Linked DNA regions of Homo sapiens: region 1 is linked to region 2. Evidence: promoter capture Hi-C in 16 types of primary human blood cells and fetal thymus (Javierre and others, 2016). All regions are on one chromosome and are shown on one strand. The core of a region is centred on a gene start or on the middle of the fragment in contact, and the rest is flanking DNA. Distances in the headings are between cores, read along the strand shown. Region 1 overlaps LOC105379091 (a long non-coding RNA gene). Region 2 holds the start of PCSK1 (proprotein convertase subtilisin/kexin type 1).

Region 1 (3,037 bases), core at 52-2,551, 570 kb before region 2:
CCCCCTTCTGGTCCTTCACGGAATATTATTTTGCTTCTGAAACTTAAAAAAACAATTTTGTTCTCAGGTCATTCTCTGTGTACATCCCATCTCGTCCATCCTACAGATTAGATGTTCTTCCAGGGTAGAGGCGACCCCATCTCATGTCTTTTTATTCTCCCTCTGCTTTTTATTCCCACAGGCAGTCTTCAGTACAAGAAGCGTCAATCTCAGATCTTACTCATTTCCAACCTGTACCAATCAAAGGCCCTCCCAGCCAAGATAAAAGCAAAGTCTCCCTCCTCCAGAGCACATGGGAATGGCCCCCCAGTAGCTGGGGCATGCAAGCTAATGAAGTTTCATCTTCCACCTCTATCCAAATATGACCTTGCTGATACCATCTCCTATTAGATGACAAATCCGGATGTTTCTATTGCATGGTTGTTATTTGCCACATGCTTCCTGGACAAGTTTCTAGGTAACCTTAATGTCTGTGCTTCTGGGGAAGGAGGAGTAGAAAATAACTCACCTCTTCAGTAAGTGGTTTTAAAAATATAACAGTGTTTAAAAGCTTTTAGAGAGCAGCTCTCCTTCCGGCTGCTCCAGCTCTGTTTGCTTTGTGATAGGAGCCCCCGTAACACTTCGTGCTTGGCAACATCTGACGAGGACAGAAGGCAGGTTTAAAGCTGAGAAGATTGATTTTTCCTTTGTAGGGCTTTCCATGAGGGGCGTGGGAGAGAAGTCACTTGGGGAAGCAGTGGTCAGTGAGGTTTACTTCTCCATATGCTCTGCATTCATGTGTAAGGCTAAACAAACGTGTTGTCTCCGCAAGCAAATCCCACACCACAGAGAGGAGCAGTTTGTCCTGGAGGTCCTAAGGAGGTGACCAGTGACCTGGAGGGTAAAAGGTTGGGGCTCCTGAGACCTTTCTTCCAACTCTCATTTCCATCCTAAACTGGCAGGGGAAATGTACCCAAATTGCCTGTGTGTTTCGATTTGATGTGGACACACTGTGACCACTCAGGATCGCTCTGGTGCTGCTGAACTCCATGGTTCATATTAGGCCCGACTGTCTAGTTTTAGAAAGTGGGAGGAGATTTCCCCTCTGCCAGGGCTTGGGGTTTATGTTCCCCAGAGCATTGAGCAAGAGCCTCATGTTTACAGAAATCTCAGGCCCCATGATTTCTTCCTGTCAGGGTAGAAGGAGAAGGAGTAGGCACAGACTGTGGAGTAGATCTTGCCACTTCAGTCCCTTTGTTCTTGCCCAGCATGAGGTTACCAAGGAAAGGATACCTGGGGCGCTGGGGGTGAGGGTATGTATTGGTTGTTTGAACTCTGAAAATATAATTTTAAAATTGGCATTGTAAATCAAATCATTAGGTCTTCTGCATATAGTTTTATTTTTTCTAAAACTTCATAAAGCTGTCAAAAATACCTACACTATATTTTAAATGCTGTGGGCAATATAGTTTTTAAAATTTTATTGTGAAGTGCTGTTGTAATTCCTTTAAGAGATGTACACTGTCTACCTGGTTTATTTTGTGTGCAAATATGTATATATACACTGTATATATACATATACATATACACACAACTATATACATACATGTATATATACACACATATATATTTCAAAGTTTTTTGAGATCTAGTGCTCACACAGCATTTGGTAGTAACTAACAGCTGCTAAGTCAACTCCTAACCTTCTCAACCTCATCTGGTGTGACTTAGAGCAGAAATGGTCCAACCAGCGCAGCAACCATGTACCCACCCAAGTTGACTCCTATGGGCGTAATGTCCACAGGTGCTTCTGCCTTGGTGTGTCAACTCCATCTTACAATTTAGGAGAATTTGGTTACATAGCACCTACTAGGTCTTAAAAATAAAAATATCAATGCCCATTTTATATAGTGGGTCTATGTAGGATCTAGTGAAAATACGCACTTAAGTCTTTTAGAAGACAGGAGAGATTGGGGTCATACAATTTTTTTTTGCATATGTGAAGAGAGTAAATACTTAGTGTTCATCAACTCCATGAAAATGAAGATTCCAAACTACCACAAAACTAAGGAATAAAGCTTTATCATTTGGCTTTAAAGACTCTGAAAGTACTGGGTTCTATTATTGCCTTAATTGGGGTCATGCAAGGGTGGAACAATAGGAGCTAAATAGTTCATGTTAAGGCAGATCAAGGCTTGACAAGTTCCAGATTTCCAGCAGGATTTAACTCCTGAGTCACATCAACTTGGGGTACAAGATTCACTGGGAAGCAGGGAGGAGCAAAAATCAGTCTGTAGAACTCTAGAAAGCAGTACCTGATAAAGACCTTTAAAGTCTCCATGAATCAAAGATATTAAGATTCGTTTTCTGCTACCCCATCTTCAAAATGAAAGCTATTCAAAGCCACAACATAAATATAAAAATTTCTCCCATGGTAACCACCTGGTTGATTAAAATATGTTTAATTTTTCCTTTTCTTCTGTGAATTGCTGCTGCCCTAAGTATGTACGTGGTCTGCCTGTTAGCTTCCTAAGCACATCTGGCAAGGTGGGGTAGATGAAGAAGGGCAGCTATGGAGGTGGGCATTTGGGAGAATGTAAATGCAAGGCTGGGGACAGCTCTCACTGGAGGGTAGCATGACTGCCCAGCCAAGGGCCAAACTATAAAGGGACAGCCCCGGCAAGTGCTCCAGAGTAGGTGGATTTCACAACGTATGGAACCACTCCTTTTAGGTCCGAAGTGCTACATACTTAGTTTATGATTTGCAAACATTCATCTTCTGGCTGGAAGGCTGGAGACAAACAGACAGCTCATTAGGAAAATAACCAAAGAGCTAAATAAAATGGAGGAAGTAGGCAGCAGATCCCAGGCAGACAAGTGTGGCTCACAGTCCTTCATGAGAGATCAGAGGCCAAGCCAAACCAATGCGTCCGTCCCTCAAAGGTCATTCGTCTAGGGCTTTGTCAAACCAGGAAGGGAAGGGAGTTTCAAAGGGCCTTTTGTGGAACACACACAGCTCTGGCCCCTGAGATTCAAATCAGGATCAGGAAACCTGTGT
Region 2 (2,966 bases), core at 348-2,847:
TTCGGGCATTTCAAAGACAATTTGGTTTATAAAGTTGAGAATGAAGCCTCTAGCAAGAGCAGGCGAATTCCCCAGAGGGTTCGGTCTACAGAATCGCCAACGCCCCCGCCGATTACTCATCCGTGACTCCAGCGGCGTCTCAACCACCACCTCCAGAAAAAACGCGCCAAAATGTTTTACAACTGCCTCCTCCCACGCTTCAATGCAGACCAACTTCCCAAGCAGGGGGCGAGGGCTTGATTCCGAGCCAAGGAAAGGAAAGCTCTAGACTAGAAGTCACACTCCCTAGGGTCCCCTCGGAATCGCTCAGCTATAAGCAGTCTCCCACTTAATGTCTTGACGCCCACCCACCTCCAACCAGCTACCTATCGACCAAGCCTTCACTTGGACAGGCAACAATAAGCTGAAATTCCCGGGAAAACGATTACGTACTTGGCTGAAGAACAAGAAAGAAATAGATCCCTTCCCCATAGTCAGTTCGGCATCTCGACCCTGCAGTGGGACTGGCCGGGCAAAGTTATGAAGCTTGGACTTTATAAGTTCCCAGTGAAAAGCCGGAGCTCCCTAGAGAGTCGCGGGGATAGATGGTCCCGTGTCTTTCACCCACCATTTCTCCCCCCAGCTTCCCAGGCTACTCCGCGGCCTCCCAACCTCCTGGTCGCGAGTCCCAGCAGCTGGCACTCTTCCAATGCCCTGGGCGTGCCCTTACAGGCTGCCAGGGCGGACAGCCCCAAGCCTGCTTAGCCCCTTGCATCAGGACTTGGATCTGATGCTGCCATATTGAAAAGAAGGCAACAGCCGGCTCCTGACGCAGACCGCCTCAGTCCCGGGGGATGGAGCGCACTGCTTCTCCCGGGGGCGCTTGGTTGGTAAGAGCTTGAGTGTATCTCAAGTTCCCTGAACAAGCGTGGAGGGATTTTTCTTCCAAACCGCGCGGGAACGGATTTCAATTCTAGAGCGGCCAACAGTAAGCATAAGCCCTACCCAGCTGCAGCGGCTTCCTTCTGCTTGGCTGCGCCCAGCCTAAACAGTAAATAATGCAAGCTTTCTCTCTCTCCAAGCGCGACAGGGGCGAGGGCTGGAGCAGCTCCTTGCTCTTTGCTACTCTGGGCTCTGGAGAGTGCAACCTGGGGCTCCCACTTGGAAGACCGCGCTCCAGTCCCGCCAGTCCCCTGGGGCCCCAGAAAGTTTCTTGAAAGTGGAAACTCTTACCTGACCCAAAAGGTCATAGCCCAGCTCCTCGGCGATGGCCGAGGCTGCTTCCGGGCCCCCGGGGATCTCCGCTGCCCATTCATTGACAAATTGCCTTTTCGCTTTTGCACTGTTCAGTGCACACCAAGCGCAAAAGAGGACGAAAGCAGTGCACTGCAGACTCCAGGCTCTTCGCTCCATAGCTCACACACTCGCTTGAACAAGAGTGGGAAGGGAAGAGGAAAAAGAAGCAAGATAGGAGAAAAGCCAGACAGACTCCCCCTTCCCACCCTCGGGCTCTAGACCACTCCTGGCTCCTGGTTGCTCTGCGAAGAGCTAGGAGGCGCGAGAGGAGAGGCTGGGCGGCGGCGAGCGCTCAGTGAAGCGCTTCGGTCTCCAGGCTGAGTGGAGCCCCAGCCCTTCCCAGCCAGAATGGAAATGAGTGTTTACACGTCAAATCGACGAAAGCCATCTCTTGACGTCAGATCTACCTGGACTAAGATCCGAATGGTATTCCCGGCGGGGCGGAGAAGCGGCTAAAATAAGCAGCCAGGGATTAGGAAAAGGAAGGAACTGTTTGCTGGGATCAGTTAAGTCTGCTCCTTGTCTGCCCATAAATTCTGTACCGTGAGAAACATTTTCACTTTTCAAAGAGAAGTGCCCCACTTGAACATAACTACCAAGAATCAAAGGCTGGGAGTGCTTTCCCTCCCTTCCATCCATTTTCTCTGTATTTACTTTATTATCTCATGTGTGTGGCGGGGAGGGGGGGAGGCTATAGGATTCTTATAATGGCCCTTTGGGCATCAGCACCTGCTATGAAGAACAAGGCTCTTAGGTCTTTCAAAGAGAGAGGCTAGGAGAGTAAGGAGAAGAAGGGAAGCTACTACTGTCCCAATTCTGTTCTAAATTGTCTGAGAAAATTAGCATGTCTATGTTAAAGCAATACTATTAAAAATGAATTTTTAACCATTCAAGCCACCTTAGTTTACAAGTTTACTTCCCTCCTCCCCTTTGTTTCTCAACCTCAGTAAAACAATATCAGTAGTTATACTCCGATATTGCAAAGCCAGCGCCACCACCACCTTTTAGGGTGTTTATCAGTAAAATGATTAATCATGTGATTTTAAAAAAACATATTTTTAAGAATTCGTCAACAAGGGGATCTAGGATCCCAAAAGCTGTTGTGTTGATTCAGGGAGGGAAAGAGCAGTTTTTATTTACCTCGACTTTCCATTGTGCCTCAGTAGAGCTCTTCACTTTGGTGCTGAGCTGGAGCTGTGCCATTACTTTCCCATAAAATGCACAATGCCTCTTTGTGGAAAAATGGTTTCCTGTGGGAGGAGAGCAAGGAAACATCTAAATGAATTCTCCACCCCTCACCCTAGGGAAGTGAGTTCAGTCTCCCATGGTGGAGCCTATTCGAACCCTGAGGGATTGAACCTGGCGGGAGATACCAGTGCCTAGTATTCAGCACCGAGGTCTGGACAGCGACACACGCAGGACTGCCGCAGGAGCTGCTCTCTCTTCTGAGCACCAAAGACCTCCACCCTTCTGCAGCTGGCCAGCACCAAGCTGTTTTCCTTTTGATATGTGCATTTCCCTCTTTTGAACAGCAAAATAGGAAATTGGCCGCAGGGGGGAGTGTGGTTAGGTTCATGATCGTGACAACTTGTGTCCAGCTCTTGGGAACGTGTTGGACTCAGGCCAAAAGTAAAATCGCCGGGAGGTGGAATTGAGAGAGTATGCTGCACCTGGGAAGTTTGTTTTTTTTT

The links. The method cuts DNA at HindIII sites, captures the fragments that hold promoters and counts their contacts. A CHiCAGO score of 5 or more calls a contact.
Region 1: a fragment that was not itself captured here is called in contact with the fragment with the promoter of PCSK1 in region 2 in 2 of 17 cell types (erythroblasts and fetal thymus); the score reaches 5.5 in erythroblasts.

Annotation. Positions count from the first base shown.
Region 1 is chr5:95,862,455-95,865,491 of GRCh38, forward strand. LOC105379091 (a long non-coding RNA gene) reads left to right here. Exons shown (of 3, transcript XR_001742813.2): 1 at 1-1,292. Among named protein-coding and RNA genes, the nearest start is that of LINC01554, 12 kb to the left of the region's middle. RefSeq lists enhancers at 1-713, 969-1,470. The HindIII fragment of the contact is 1,507 bases long and covers 549-2,055 here.
Region 2 is chr5:96,431,651-96,434,616 of GRCh38, forward strand. PCSK1 (proprotein convertase subtilisin/kexin type 1) reads right to left here and starts at 1,598. Exons shown (of 14, transcript NM_000439.5): 1 at 1,213-1,598. The coding sequence starts at 1,392. All of the region lies in intron 4 of LOC101929710 (a long non-coding RNA gene), which reads left to right. It also overlaps a transcript of CAST not described here and the pseudogene LOC102724070. RefSeq lists silencers at 2,475-2,769, 2,631-2,750. The HindIII fragment of the contact is 4,966 bases long and covers 1,043-2,966 here.